3 separate regions of the Homo sapiens genome follow, and all the other regions are linked to region 1. The links are contacts of gene promoters, found by promoter capture Hi-C in human tissues and cell types (Jung and others, 2019). All regions are on one chromosome and are shown on one strand. The core of a region is centred on a gene start or on the middle of the fragment in contact, and the rest is flanking DNA. Distances in the headings are between cores, read along the strand shown.

Region 1 (4,613 bases), core at 1,556-4,055:
GCTGCCTTTGCGGATTCTGTTTTTGAGCCGTGGACTTGGGTTGTAAATTTATTTGTGGGGAGTGCGCTCCAGGAAGAGCCACCATCCCTGCCCCCGTTTTCCCACCGGGGAGTCTGTACAGAGATTTTTCTACGTTTTTATTTTTTGCCTCAGAGGGATGGGATTGGGGAGGAGGGGATGGGCAGCGGAGGGTTGGGGGCATGGTCTGCAGGCTCATCTGTGTCCGCCTTTCACTCCACTAATGCTGTCTCAGTGTTTTCTCTCTCTCTCTTTCGAGCTTGCACTCCGGTACCCGACCCGGCGCCCTGGCCCATCCCATGCCGGGGGGCCAGTGGAAAGAAGACAGGCCGTCCAGCCCGTGCCCGCCTGCGGCGGGGGCACCCAGCAAGCCCGCCCACCGCCCGCTGCCTCACCTGCTTCGCCACAGACTCTTGTTCCCAGCCCCTTGGGGCCTCCGTGTTTGGGGTGGGGGAGCTGCTTAGAGACTGTGCCCGTCCTCGGCCCCCCACCCTGAAGTGCCAGCACCACCAGCACCAGATCCTCCGCCGCCACACCGCACTGAGGACACGCCGGCCGGGCCGCCTCGTCTCAAGTTGTATAAAGTTGTCTCCGTGTCCCCTCCTCCCTCTGCCCCCAGTGTTTCTTCTGATTTTTTTTTCCCCTTTCCCTCCCTCCCTCTCCGCATTCTTCCCTTGGTTCAGCACAGGTAAAACGGTTCCCCTCCCTCCCTGCCTTCATGGATCACCAGCTCACGTCATGTTGCCTTCTCTTTTCTTTGTGTGTGTGTTTATTTAAGTTATTTTTCTTCCTCCTCTCCCTTTTCTTTTTGGCCCTCCCTCCCTCCCTCTTCTGCCATGTAACTGGAGGATGTGCTATGAGTTTGCAAACAGCTGGACTGTCAGGCTGCTTTTTTTCCAGATGTTCCTCCTCTGCCTCCCCTTCCCCTCCTCTCCCCTCCTTTTCCTTCCTTCCTTCCTTTCCTTGGAGCACTGAGCACCATTTGGAAGCTTGAGAGAAACCAAAATTAAAGAGAGAAAGAGAGAGCGTGCACGCTCCTGCTTTGTCTTTCCTGTGTGGGCTGTTTGCATCCATTGTCTCCTCCAGAGGTCTGGGGGTGTCACTCCAGGGGGATCTCAGCCAGGGGCTGGAAAGGCCCCCCTGTCCTCCCTATACGGCACAGCCAGAGTGTCTGCAGGGGCTGGCACCCCACTTCCTGGCTGAGGGTGAACTCCAGCTTGGGGAGGTGGACCTGGGAACCATGGGGCACCTTGGCCACGGTGAGGTGGGGGTGCAGCTGCCCTGGAGACTGTAGTGTACTCAGCCCCTCGGCTTCCAGCCTCTGGCTCAGCACTTGTGCCATGCTTTCCAGTGTGGGAGAGGGTGGGGCACACAGCACATGCGGGCCCAGGAGGACCAGCTTTCTAAAGCTCAGCCGAGGGGGTGCATTTAGCCCCGGGGCCAAGAGGGCCCGTCTCAGAGCTCCAATGGCAGCGGCCTCCTCCCCAGCGCCTGCCAGTCGCAGCAGGGCCAGGGTCAGGTGTAGGTTCTGAGAGGGCACTAGGAAGTTGGCGCAGTGTGGGGCCACGTGGACCAGGTATTCCTGGGCCTTGGTCACTTCTGCTTGTAGCCCAGGCTCGGTCACCATGAGGGCCACAAAATGTGTGGGGCGCGGTTGGCAAGGGGCTGCAACACTAAGGCGGGCCCTTTTGTCCTCGGGCCAGGCCGCAGGACCCCACTCGGCTTCTGTCGTCTCAGCGGAGCCCCCCGGGACTCCCAGGGCCTGTGCTTCCTTGCCCCCCAGCAATGTGGTCCTGGTGGCTGCTGTTGGCTTCAGTGCCTCAGTCACTCCGGCGAGGCGTCCTCTTGGGGCCAGTGTTCCCAAATCAGCAGCTGTGCCCAGCGCCCTCTCCTGGGCCGCCTCCAGCTCTCCGGGTTCCTCCACGCCTGGTTCCTGGTGCCCTGTGCAGAGCGGCCTTGTGCTCCCTCGCTTGGGGGCAGCCTGGGCCTCCTGACCTGTCCCCGCCAGTGTCCACTCGGCACCCTCTGCCCCGTGGGCGCCCTCGGTGTTCGGTGCGTCCAGGATGGTGGGCCCGCGTCCCGCCGCCGAGCCAGAGCCAAAGACGAGGTCGGTGCGCGAGGCGCGGTCCCACACAAGGCGGCCACGGAAGCGGAAGAAGCGCACGCGGTGCTGGGGCACTGCCAGCACGCCCGGCCCGAGCGCCGCCAGCGGCTGGTCCCAGCAAAAGGCGCTGAAGGGCTCCTCGCGCACACCCAGAAAGCGGTCGACGTAGCCCACCGAGAAGTCGGCGGGGTCGAGGCGCGGGTCCCAGCGGATGCGCTGGATGACGTCCGCGGCTGTGCGCAGCGGCGGCTTCTTGGCCCCGGCCTCCGGCTGCGCCTCGCGGCCAGGCGGCGCCGGCGCCCCAGGGTGGGGCTGGCGGCAGCGGGCGCCGAAGCGGCAGCGGCCTTCCAGGAAGAAGCGGCAGGCCGGCGGGGGCGCGGGTTCCGTGGCGGGGGCTTCCTGCGGCAACTCCGGCTCTCTGGCCGCTGCCATGGGTGCGGGGAACTGGCACGCCCGCCGCGCAGACGAGGTCGCCCCGCACGGAGGGCGGCTCCCCTTGGATGCACCGAGCCTCACCCGACAGTGGCGTCAGCGGCCCGCGCTCCGGCCTAGCTCTGGGGACCACGCCGCGTGCCCTCGCGAGGACTCTGGCCCAGTCCCTCCTTGGTGGAGAGCCTGACACCGCTGCTCTGGGACTTCCCGGCTGCGCCCTCCCCCAGCGCCAGGAAAGCAAGCTGCGTAAAGGCTGCGGCAGTCTCGGTCTCCCGGAGCTCTTGGGAGCCTGGCCCCGCCCCTTTCCCGGTGATTGATGTGTGCTGCCTCTTTCTGGGTGATTTACATGTAATGCCCCGCCCCTTTCGGGATGATTACGTGTGCCTCGACCTTTAGGTGATTTACATGTAGTGCCCCGCCCCGTTCCCGGTGATTTACATGTGGTGCCCCGCCCCTTTCCTGGTGATTTACGAGTGCCCCACCCCTTTTAGGTGATTTTTTTTTTTTTTTATGTGTGCCTCTCCCCTTCCCAAGTGATTTACATATGTTCCCCGCTCCTTTCAGGGTAATTTACATGTAATGCCCCGCCCCTTTCCGGGTGATTTACGAGTGCCTCTCCCCTTCTCAAGTGATTTACATGTGTCCCGCCCCGTTCCGGGTGATTTACATGCGTGCCCTGGCCCTTTCCCAGTGATACTTTTGTGCTGCCTCTTTCCGGGTGATTTACGTGTGTGCCTCTCCCCAAGTGATTTACATGTGTGCCCTGTCCGTTTTAAGGTGATTTACATGTGGTGCCCCGCCCCTTTCCGGGTGATTTACCTGTGTCCCATCCCTTTCCCGGTGATTTACATGTGGTGCCCCGCCCCTTTCCCGGTGATACCTGTGTGCCCCGCCCATGAGGGGACGTCTTTAAAGAACCTGGACCCGCCCTCAGTCCAAGTGATTTACATTTGCGGCCCCGCCCCTCTGGGAAACTTACGAGAACCTGGCCCCTCAGTCCAAATCATTTGCATGTTCGGCCCCATCCCTCGGGGGCCTTAAAGAACCAAGATGCCTGCGGACCCTTCCCCCACGGAGACCAGGCCCCTACTGCTCTAAAAGTGTTCTCAGACACTTCCCTCTGCAGCCGCTCCCAGAGTAAACGGCGGCTCCGCCGGGTCGGAGTCCACCTGAGGCGTTCAGGGCCAGAAAGACTCCTGGGGCTGCAGCACTCTGCAGCCCCGCCTCGGCTGGCCCCGCGGTGGCTGAGTCTGGCCCGGCCCCAGGACCACGTCCGGCCGGCGGTGGCGCACAGTATTTGACGAATGGGACTGCGGGAGCCGCCGCCTCTGCAAGGGGCACCGCCTGGCCACGCCCTCGGGCTCTCTTAAAGGAGCCGCACCCCCACCCCAGGGCAATCATCGGACCCGGACCAGGCCTCCGGGTGACACATCCGGCTCTCAGAGGCGCCAGGACCCTATCATTCATCCCTTTCCACGTGCAAAGTGAAAAGTCAGAGCCCGGGCACACACCTTGGCCGTTTATGTATACAGAAGTGGGGTGCCGGGCGGGAAGGGCGCGGGGAATGAGGGAACCTAGAGGCCGATGACGTCGTTCAGCTCGAGGTCCGCGTTGGGGCGGCAGCGGGCCTGGGGGGGCTGCGTCCCGGGGCGGGGTTCCGCGTCGGGCTTGGCGGCAGCCGCCTCCGGGCGCGCCGCGTCCATGACGCCCAGCACCGCGTCCAGCATGGAGGGCCCCAGATCCAGGTGGAAGGACAGCAGCGGGTCGGCAGGCGAGGGCGCTGCGGACTGCGGGACGGCGGGCGGCGGCGGGGAGCGCGGGGCCCCCGCGGGGGGCGCCCGGGGCTCGGGGGGCGGCCCGCCGCCGTGGCGGCTCAGGAACGAGGTGTCCCCGAAGGCGTCGCCGCCGCGCCCCACGTGCAGCGTGTGCCGGAAGTCGCCGAGCGGCGCGGAGATGGACAGGGCGCCGCGATCAGGCCGCTTCTTGGGCTGCGCGGGGCCCAGCTGCTTCAGCACGGGCATCTGCGAGGGGCACGGGAGGGTCAGCGCGGCCCCAGCCC
Region 2 (4,941 bases), core at 1,848-4,347, 710 kb after region 1:
CCAAAGTGCTAGGATTAAGGCATGAGCCATCGTGCTTGGCCTTGTTTTCTTTTTAAATTGGTGTAAAACACACACACTATTAAGTTGATTGGGAATGACATTTAGTACACTTGCAATGCTGTGCAACCATCACCACTGTCTAATTCCAGAACTTTCTCATCACTCCAAAAGAAAACACGTACCCCATTTATCTCCCCATTTCTCTCTCCTCTGTCCCTGGCAACCACGAATCTACTTTCTGTCTCTATGTATTTGTCAGTGCAGGAGATTTCTTTTGGATGGAATACTGCACTATGCAGCCTTCTGTATCCGGCTTCCTTCACTTGGCATAATATTTTCAGGACTCATCTATGCTGAAGCATGAATCAATGCTTTCTTCTGTTTTTATGACCAAATAATATTCCACTGTTGTTCTCCCTAACCTTTGCAAGCTTCGTTCCTTCTTGTCATTCAAGTCATGGCCCAGACCGCACCTCCTCAGCAAGGCTGCCCCTGACCACCCTCCCTAAGTTATGTCAGCCTTTTTACGTTTTGGTCCCAGTGTGGACGGCCATTTGTAATGGTTTTATTCTTCTATCGCTCTGCTTTCTTGTTGAGACAGAGACCCAAGGACCCCATTGCCATCATCTAAATCAATCCCAGGATTTAGAGACAGGCTCTCTGGCTGTGTGATTCTGAGCATTTCACAGGAATTCTCTCTCTCTCTCTCTCTCTCTTTTTTTAGATGGAGTTTTGCTCTTGTTGTCCAGGCTGGAGTGCAATGGCGCGATCTCGACTCACTGCAACCTCCACCTCCTGGGTTCAAGCGAGTCTCCTGCCTCAGCCTCCCTAGTAGCTGGGATTACAGGTGCTTGCCACGACACCCAGTTAATTTTTGTATTTTTAGTAGAGACAGGGTTTCAGCATGTTGGCCCAGCTGGTCTTGAATTCCTGACCATAGGTGATCCGCCCACCTCAGCCTCCCAAAGTGCTGGGATTACAGGCGTGAGCCACTACGCCCAGCCCCAAATTTTCTAAAGCACAGTTTGGACTCATTTGTCAACTGGGAATAATGATCATGTTTATTTCATGAGTTTGCTGTGAGGATTATTATTGGCAGTAATAGTAGTAACATAAAGGGCTGTCTTCATAAAGACATGCTCTACAGCCACACACACACACACACACACACACACACACACACACACACTCACACACATGAAAAGTTACTGAATTCCTTTGGAGAAAAATTAAAAATCTCATGGATATTATAATCTGTGTAGCTGTTCTATTTTCACTTTCCCGATTGGCTACCAGGAAGCTTAGGAGCAAGTAAGTTTGTTTGCTGCCTCCTTTTTTGGTACGTGGGGGTAATTTTTGCCTCATTCTCCACTTAATCTGCTGCTCAGAGAGTTCTCTGGCCAAATCTTATAGGTCTTTGTTCACCACCCAAAATTCTGTATGGGATGAGATAAGGTAGAAGCCAATGGAACTATCATCTTTGCTAGAAACAGAGTAGGAGGCAGCATTCGTTGAAAGAACAATGAGGTCAGATGCGGCGGCTCATGTCTACAGTCCCAGCTACTCACACAGGAGGATTGCAGGAGTTTGAAACCAGCCTGTGCAACATAGCAAGACCCCATCTCTAAAAAAGAAAAGAAAAGAAAAGAAAAAATTAGCTAGGCATGGTTGCATGTGCCTGTGGTCCCAGCTACTCAGGAGTCTGAGGCAGGAGGATCCCCTGAGCCCAGGAGGTTGAGGCTGCAGTGAGCTATGATTGCCCCACCGCACTCCAGCCAGGGTACACAGAGAAACCCTGTCAAAAAAAGAAGAAAGAAGAGGCTGAGGCAGAAGAATCGCTTGAACCCGGGAGGCAGGGGTTGCGGTGAGCCGAGATTGCACCATTGCCCTCCATTCTGGGCAACAACAGCGAAACTCCGTCTCAAAATTAAAAAAAAGAAGAAGAGAAGAAAAGAAATAGAAAAGAAAAGAAAAGAAGAAGGGCCGGGCGCGGTGGCTCACGCCTGTAATCCTAGCACATTGGGAGGCCGAGGCGGGCGGATCACGAGGTCAGGAGATCGAGATCATCCTGGCTAACACGGTGAAATGCCGTCTCTACTAAAAATACAAAAAAATTAGCCGGGTGTGGTGGCGGGCGCCTGTAGTCCCAGCTGCTCGGGAGGCTGAGGCAGGAGAATGGCGTGAACCCGGGAGGAGGAGCTTGCAGTGAGCCGAAATCGTGCCACTGCACTCCAGCCTGGGCGACAAAGTGAGACTTCATCTCAAAAAAACAAAAACAAAAACAAAAAAACAAACAAACAAAAAAAAAACAAGAGAAAAAGAAAGAAAAGGAAAGACAGAAAGAAAACAAAAAGGAAAAAAGAAAAGAAAAAAGAAAGAGGTGAAGTTGAAATCATTGGCTTTCCTTGCTGAACTCCAACCTCTCTCGCAGGCTCTGGAGATTGTATTCCCTGGCTCCGCGCCTCTCCTTTGTTTTGATGGCAGTAAGTCGCTTGGGGGGTCAGGTCTGTGTTTGGATATTCTGGGGCCCCAGCACTCAACAGAAGACCTCAGGGAATATGGAATGGAAGGAAGAAAAAAAAGAGAGGGAGGGAGGGATGCAGAAATGGGTATGAAAATCGATGTGAGTCATGGGTGAGCAAGCGAGTGGATAAATTCATGGACAAGCAAGGGAGTTCTCGCGGACTCCTCACAGCCAGCGTGTGGCAGGAATTATTATTATCCCAACATTCTCCAGAGGAGGAAACCCAGGCTCAGAGTGGTGAGTGAGGAATGAACGGGTGAGAGTGTGAGGGAGTCCATGGGGTCAGGCCAGTCTCTCAGAGGCTTTCAGGACGAACAGCACTCACACCGCCCTGCGAGCGCCCATTCCTGGAAACGAGGTTTCCTCTTGGGTCCCAGCCCTTGCCCACCCCCATCAAGGAGCATGGGCCCAGGCCACCGGAGCTGCTGAATATTTATTTGGCCCCAGGAGCAGTGCAGGGATGGGCTGTGTTGGAAGAGAGAGGAGAGCAGACGAGGATGGCTGATTGTCAAAGCAGGGGGCAGGACCCGGGGGCAGGAGAAACCAGGCTGCCTTCCCTTCCCGGGGTCCCTGGGGCATCTGGGTGTGTCCGCGAGGGTCGGGGGAGTGTGCTGGAAAGTTGTCGTGATTGGCATCGTTGGGGGTGAGAAGACAGGAATGGTTCAGATGGTTGGGGTGGAAGGTGGGGGGAGGGTAACCGTCAGAGGAAGCTTAAGGGTGGGGCTGGCTTGGCTTTGGCCGGTCTCGGGAGTCTGGGGTCAGGGGCTAGAGTCCAGGCTTGGCCGGGGGCTTGGGGTGGGAGTCAGGGCGCAGGCAGCAGCCTCACTCGGTCCGGGGGCCGCAGCGAGTGCCACTGGGCAATGGGCCGCCGCGGGTTGGCCAGCATGTCCGCCCAGTGCCGCAGGCCAGCCCCGCCGGCGGCCGCCCCCACGGCCACCCTCCCGATGGCCTCGTTCTTGCCCAGCTTGTCGTAGTCCAGCACGGTCAGCTCCACCTGCACCTTCTGGGGTGGGCGCGGGAGGAAGAGGAGAGAGGAGCGTGAGGGGAGGAGGCCCCGGAAGGGGCGGTGTCCGTTTTCACGGCTGAGGGTACCTCTCGCTGCCACCCGAGGGCTCGGGGCCCCGGAGCTCGGGACGGGGGAGGGGGTGGGAGACGAGAGGGACGGAGCCTGCGGCGAGGAGGAGGCTCTGGCGCCTTTCTTCCTGCGCAGCCAGGTTTCTAAGGAAATGAACCCTCAGGACTCGGTTGCGGAGCGGGTGTGTTCGGCGCCTCCTGGGGGAGCAGCCTCCTAAGAGCCGCAAAGCTGCAGAACTTTAACAGGGGCCGGGCTAGGGTAGGCGCCGTCCCTAAAGAAGTGAGGGGAGGTCTCTTTTTCTTAGAACCACGTTCCTGAGGAGGGCGGGGCATCCTGGTCCTGCTTAGGGTGGGGAATCTGGTCCCGCTTAGGAGTGGGGCATCCTGGTCCCGCTTGGGGGCGGGGCATCCTGGTCCTGCTTGGGGGCGGGGCATCCTGGTCCTGCTTGGGGGCGGAGCATCCTGGTTCCGCTTGGTGGGGCGGGGCATACTGATCCTGCTTAGGGTGGAGCATCTGGTACTGCTTAGGGGTGGGACATCCCGGTCCCGCTTAGAGCAGATAGGACACCCACACCCAATTTTAAGGAGTCTCTTCCTGGAGTGGAAGAGGCTTCCTGGTCCTCATAGGAGGAAACAGACTGAGAGCATAACCTCAGACCCCCTCACCTGGTTTCTAGGGAGATGCTAAAAAGTCTCCCTCCGCCTAGCAATGGCGATTACTAAAGGTCTGGGCTCTTGGAGAAGGGCAGGTTTGAGCTCACCTGGACTTGGTCACAGGGCACCTCGAAGCTGAAAGCTTCGTTGTAATAGGGGTTCAGAGTGTTCTTCTTGATGGTGGTTTTCTTCTTCCGCACCTTTTTGCCGCCCTGCAGCAGGTGGACCTTGACGTATGGATCTGGGGAGAGGAAGGAGGAGTCTTATAGCTCCCCACTGCTGGGTTGTTGGACCAACATAGAAACACTGCCTACACCCTTCGGGTCTCCCTAGCTCTATGCCAAAATCCATGCCTTCCACAGCAGCCAGGTCCTCCCTGTCCCCGAAGAAACCCTCGAGGCTCAGAAACTGTCAGAACGAGAACCCACCCCACGCCATCCCCACACACCCCACTCCCTTGCTTCCCACACACCTGACAGTCCTCCTACGTCCATCTTCTTCAGGTTTTTAGCCTCCAGGACGATGACGGTGAGCTTCCCGGCCGTGGGGACATAGCGGAGGGAGAAGCAGATGTCCCCAAGCTTCTCCTGCTGAAAGGAGAGGGGCCCATCACCAGAGCCCCGGCTCCACATCCATGCCTCCTCAGGGGTACAATCCACGCCGCCCTGAGGGTCTGGAAAGCCTATGAT
Region 3 (4,853 bases), core at 2,354-4,853, 760 kb after region 1:
TCCTCCCTCAGACTCAGGAGTCCAGGCCCAGCCCCTCCTCCCTCAGACTCAGGAGTCCAGGCCCCCAGCTCCTCCCTCAGACTCAGGGGTCCAGGCCCCAGTCCCTCCTCCCTCAGACTCAGAAGTCCAGGGCCCCAGCCCCTCCTCCCTCAGACCCAGGAGTCCAGGTTCCAGCCCCTCCTCCCTCACCTCCAGGAACCCCTCATGTCTGCAGGCCCCACGTGCCCCTGGAATCTGCACACCCAGACCCCCGTCCCTCCTGCTACACTTCACTGCGCAATTTCCTCTTTCCCCACCTTTCGCCAGGTCTGAGTGGAGAGGGTAGGAGATGAGGAGGAAGTGGAGGTTTCGAACCTGAGTCCAATCCTTCAGATCCTCCTCATGCCTGACCCTTCCTCAAGGAAATCCCTCAGCTTCCACTTCTCCTCACTCCAACTGTGGATTCCTGTCCTCACTTTCCTTCCTGGTCCCCGTCCTCCAGGCTCCCCACCTTCCCTTCCCACCTCTGTACTCTCACATCTGAGTCCCTAAATGCAGGTCATGGATGGAGAAGTCACCTCTCTGCTGTAAGAGTCCCTAAATGCTGGCCATGGATGGAGAAGTCCCCTCTCTGTCGTAAGAGTCCCTAAATGCAGGTCATGGATGGAGAAGTCACCTCTGCTCTAAGAGTCCCTAAATGCAGGTCATGGATAGAGAGGTCGCCTCTCTGCTGTAAGAGTCTCTAAATGCTAACCATGGATGGAGAAGTCGCCCCTCTGCTATGAGTCACTGAAAGCACATCATGGATGCAGAAGTCAAATAGGGTCTTGGAGAGCAGCTTGGACCCTGTCAAGTCTTCAGATGCAGAATCTGAGGACCTGAGGGATAGCAGCTTGCCGAGGTCACACAGCCTTGACAAGGAGCACAGCTGGGTTCCTCCTTCCCATTTGATTCCTACCCCCTTGCCGCCCTCCCTCCTCCAAGACCCCTCATCCTCAAGCCTCCCACCCTTCTCCCGATACTGCATGTGACTGCAGCGGGTTGTATCCCCTAGAAAGATATGTCCAAGTCCTAACCCCAGATACCTCTGCAGGTGACACTACTTGGAAATAGGGGCTTTGCAGACATACTTAAGGATCTTGAGATAGAATCACCCTGGGTTTAGGGTGGGCCCTAAATCCAATGACCTGTGTCCCTAGAAGGATGCGGACACAGAGGGAGGCTGCCAGTTGAAGACAGTCACATGAAGACGGAGAGACACAGCCACAGGCCGATGGAAGCCAGGGATTCCCGGGAGCCTCCAGAAGCCGAGAGGGCAAGGACGGATTCTTCCCTGGAGCCTCAAGAGGGACCATGGGCCGGAAAACACCCGGATTTTGGACTTTGGGTCTCCAGAACTGCAGGAGAGTCCATTCATCTTGTTTCAAAGCATCTGGCTTGGGGTAATTTGTGACAGCAGCCTCAGGAAACTAACACAAAGACCAAACAGTCCTCTTGGCTCAGTTCTGCACAATCCTCACTTTATCCCCCCGAATCCCCCCACCAGAGGGCCATGGAGGGTCCCACTGGGCACCAGGCCTGGTCCATGGGGAGCGACAAAGAACCTTCTGCTGTCATTAACCGCGATGGTTTATCACAATCATGACCCTCCCCGAGGCCTCTCCTACGGTAACAGCAACATCTACGGTTCCACACCCACAGGGAAAACGGATTCAGAGCAGCAGCAGGGGGCGGGCAGGCTGTGGGGCCGACAGTGAACATGGAGGCAGGCTGGTGGCTGGGAGGGCTCCATGTGGGCCTGGCTGAGGAGCCAGGGATCTGGAGTCAGAACCGGGGGAAGGCAGCTGGAACCCAGTAGTGGACTTGGAATTCCGCAAATCGTCCTCAAACGTCTTCAGCCAGAAGCGACGGCGGCAGCGGCGCCTGCAGACAGGCGTCAGGAAGCTTCGCTGCTGAGGGTATTTCTCAGGCTGGGCTGGGCTGGGAGGCCCAGGTCCTTGCAGGAGGAGAGGGCCTGAACACCGGCCCTTCAAGCTCCCTAGTCAGTCAGTCTTGGGCACCGGGCTCCTGAGGGCTGACAGTGTGATGAGGAGCTGGGCAGCATAGTAGGTGGTCATGATCACCAGGTGGGCATGGGGCAGGGGCTGGGCGAAGGTGTCCCAGGCCAGCACGCCATCAGAGAGCGTGAAGAGCAGCGCGCCCCAGCCGGCACTCCCGCCCTGGGCCAGGCCGCGCCACAGCATGGCCATCAGGATCAGCCCATAGGCTGCCACCGGCAGGACCATATCCGGCTCGAGGTGCTGGAGCACAAGGCTGAGGTAGGGGCCAGGGGCCAGGATGATGAGCAGCAGCAGGCCGGGCTGCAGGGGAGAGAAGCCGAAGGCCCAGACGTAGAGGAGGTGGGCGGTGGCAAAGGCGGCCATGCCTGGCGGGAGAGGGGTGGGGTACCAGTGAGGAAGGCCCATCCTGGGAATGGCCCCGAGGTCACCCCTCAGGGCCTAAGAGAAGGACCATCCCAGAGCACCAGGCCCCACCCTGGCCGAGCCTCCTTGCAGGTCTCCCCACATGCAGTGTCCATCCTTGCTCTGCTCAGAACTGCCAGGAGGCCCCACCTTCCCTTGGCCTCCAAAGCCCCATGGCCTCCAGCTCTCCAGCCACTCTGCGCCAGCCACCCTGGCCTGCTGGGCTACAAGCACCTGACACGTCCCTGCCCCGGAGCCTTTACACTCGCCCTTCCTCCACACAGGCATACAGCCCTTCAGCTCTGCCCAAATGTGACTTCCTCAGTGAGGCCTTCCTCAGCAACCCTGCTTCAAACTGCAGTACCTCCAGCAGGTCCTCACTGCCCTCTGCGCCACCTCAGCTACTGCCCTAACACCGCCTGCCCCCACCCCTCGCTGGAGCGTGAGCTGCCTCGGTCACGGCTGCGCCCCCCACTGTGCCTTTGACCACTGGAGCTCTCACAGGAGCCCTCTGCACCCAGGCTCCCATCCAAGTGCTGGGGCCTCTCTCACACGGGCATCTGGAAAGCGTCACAGCACCTTCCACTCACCAGGGACGAAGGCTGCCGGCCAGATGAGGCAAGCGTCCCCCACAGCCGAGCACACAAGGGCTCCCTGGAGGAGCTGGGTGTAGCCCCCGCTTGGGGACATGACCCACAGGAACCCAGCCAGGCAGAGGACGGGCAGGCACTTGACCAGGGCAGCGAACCAGGACAGCTGGTCCTCGGGAATCCAGAGGCAGAAGTACACGCAGCAGGAGAGGATGAAGGGGCTCAGCCACCTGCAGACATCTGGGCGCTTTGGGGAGTGGGGAGCTACTGAGCCGAAACCCAGCCCAGCCCCCATTCTTGGGACTCAGATCTCATGGCTCCTGTCCCACCCCCACCTGGGACCCCAGCTGTACAGGCTGGACCCATTCAGGGACCAGGCTGCCAGAACCCAGCTTCCCAGGGCCCAACCAACTCAAGGACAGCAGCTCCCAGACCCGCCGGCTGCTGGGGTTCCAGGGCCCTGTCCCCCCAGCCCCAGGCACAGCTCAGAAGGCTCTCACCTGGGCTGAGCAGTGAGTCTTCAGGGTCTGCCCCGCTTTGCCAGCGTCCATGCTGGCCTGATAGCCCCAGAGCGACCTAATCTGGGAGCGAGTGGCTTCAGGGGGTGGAGGGGAGGGCTCATGGTTACACGTTAACCCAAGGAGCGTCCTGTGGACTCTGTGACTGATAACAGGGCCCAGGGAGATGTTGTCCTCACCCTGGGGATGGCCCTGCCTGGCGCCCGCTGATAAAGCACTGTTGGCACTGGGGGTCCCTCTGCCCTAGCCTGCTGGGACATGGCTTCCTCCTCCTATCTGCCTGGGGAGGTTAGGCCCACAAATGCCTGTCCCCTTGTCCTGGGCCCCAACAATCAGAAGAGATGGGGTGCAGAATTCCAACAGCCACCCCATCATGGGAAGCGGGAGAGGGGCTGGCTGGCAGGAGTGCCCCTGGAGGGATGGGAAGGCGAGTCTGTCCTTCACTTGCTGCCCTAGCCGTCTCCCTCCCTGCTCCATGAAACCTTTCCTCATTCTGCTCAACCCCACCAAGCCCTCAGGGGCTCCACCACAAACACTGCTTCAATGGGTGACCAGGAGGGACCACCACGAATGCGGGGAACAAGCACCCTCTCCTGTTAGCTGAGCGAGCCCCCAGGTGACCTCCAAGCCAACTGCCACCCCAGTGAGGACGCTGTCCTCATGGCCCGGTCCACACGCTCCGGTTTCCCAGCGCCGCTCACCGGTGCCACTCGCTGCACACGCAGCCTACACTTCTACCTTCTACCTGAAAGACTCAGACCTACTGGGCGCCAGTACCCAGCCTCAATGCTGGGCTTGGTTACTGGGGGTAAGCAGGGGCAGGAGCAGGGATTTGAGCCTGTCGGTGGCTTCTATCCTCTGCCCAAGGCCCTGCCCACAGGTGGGGTAGACCTGGCAGGAGCCCTCACAGCCAGTGCCTGGCCCAGCCTGGGGCCTCTGCAGCCACAGGGCTCCCTCTGGCAGGACAGTGTGGGGGCAGACTGGGTCAGGAGCACCCCCAGCCTCTGGGGTGCAGGGATAATACAGGCTCCCCACCCCGCATCCCAGAACGTAAGGTCTGACCAGCAGAATCGTAAACTGCCTTCCTTTATTTATATTTGCAATATGAAATAGAAGCTCGGCACAAACGCACGCACACTCACACCAGCCTGGGAGGAGGGAGCTGGGGACAAGGTCACTTGGCAACAGGGCTGGGACCTCAGACCCTCAAGGCCCCTGGGGCTGTTGCCGGGGAGGCCCCTGCTCCCCAGAGCCGGACTGGCCTGGTTGAAAGTGCAGGGTCTGGGCAAAGGCACGGCCCCCAC

What was found. Contacts are between HindIII fragments. The study calls those that stand out against the background at their distance.
Region 2: a contact is called between a fragment that was not itself captured here and the fragment with the promoter of LENG9 in region 1, in 2 of the 25 tissues and cell types used here (dorsolateral prefrontal cortex and neural progenitor cells).
Region 3: a contact is called between the fragment with the promoter of TMEM86B here and the fragment with the promoter of LENG9 in region 1, in 3 of the 25 tissues and cell types used here (H1 embryonic stem cells, liver and mesendoderm cells).

What each region holds. Positions count from the first base shown.
Region 1 is chr19:54,460,973-54,465,585 of GRCh38, forward strand. It overlaps LENG9 (leukocyte receptor cluster member 9), which reads right to left and starts at 2,806. Exons shown (of 1, transcript NM_001301782.2): 1 at 760-2,806. The coding sequence starts at 2,554. The coding sequence ends at 1,118. It overlaps CDC42EP5 (CDC42 effector protein 5), which reads right to left. Exons shown (of 3, transcript NM_145057.4): 3 at 4,054-4,575. The coding sequence starts at 4,575. The coding sequence ends at 4,129. It overlaps LENG8 (leukocyte receptor cluster member 8), which reads left to right. Exons shown (of 16, transcript NM_052925.4): 16 at 1-1,044. The HindIII fragment of the contact is 37,347 bases long and covers 1-4,613 here.
Region 2 is chr19:55,170,158-55,175,098 of GRCh38, forward strand. SYT5 (synaptotagmin 5) reads right to left here. Exons shown (of 9, transcript NM_003180.3): 7 at 4,725-4,842; 8 at 4,360-4,493; 9 at 1,039-3,527. The coding sequence ends at 3,327. Among named protein-coding and RNA genes, the nearest start is that of DNAAF3, 6.0 kb to the left of the region's middle. The HindIII fragment of the contact is 4,464 bases long and covers 866-4,941 here.
Region 3 is chr19:55,225,160-55,230,012 of GRCh38, forward strand. It overlaps TMEM86B (transmembrane protein 86B), which reads right to left and starts at 3,604. Exons shown (of 3, transcript NM_173804.5): 1 at 3,532-3,604; 2 at 3,032-3,278; 3 at 1,479-2,404. The coding sequence starts at 3,582. The coding sequence ends at 2,022. It overlaps PPP6R1 (protein phosphatase 6 regulatory subunit 1), which reads right to left. Exons shown (of 24, transcript NM_014931.4): 24 at 4,620-4,853. The HindIII fragment of the contact is 10,515 bases long and covers 1-4,853 here.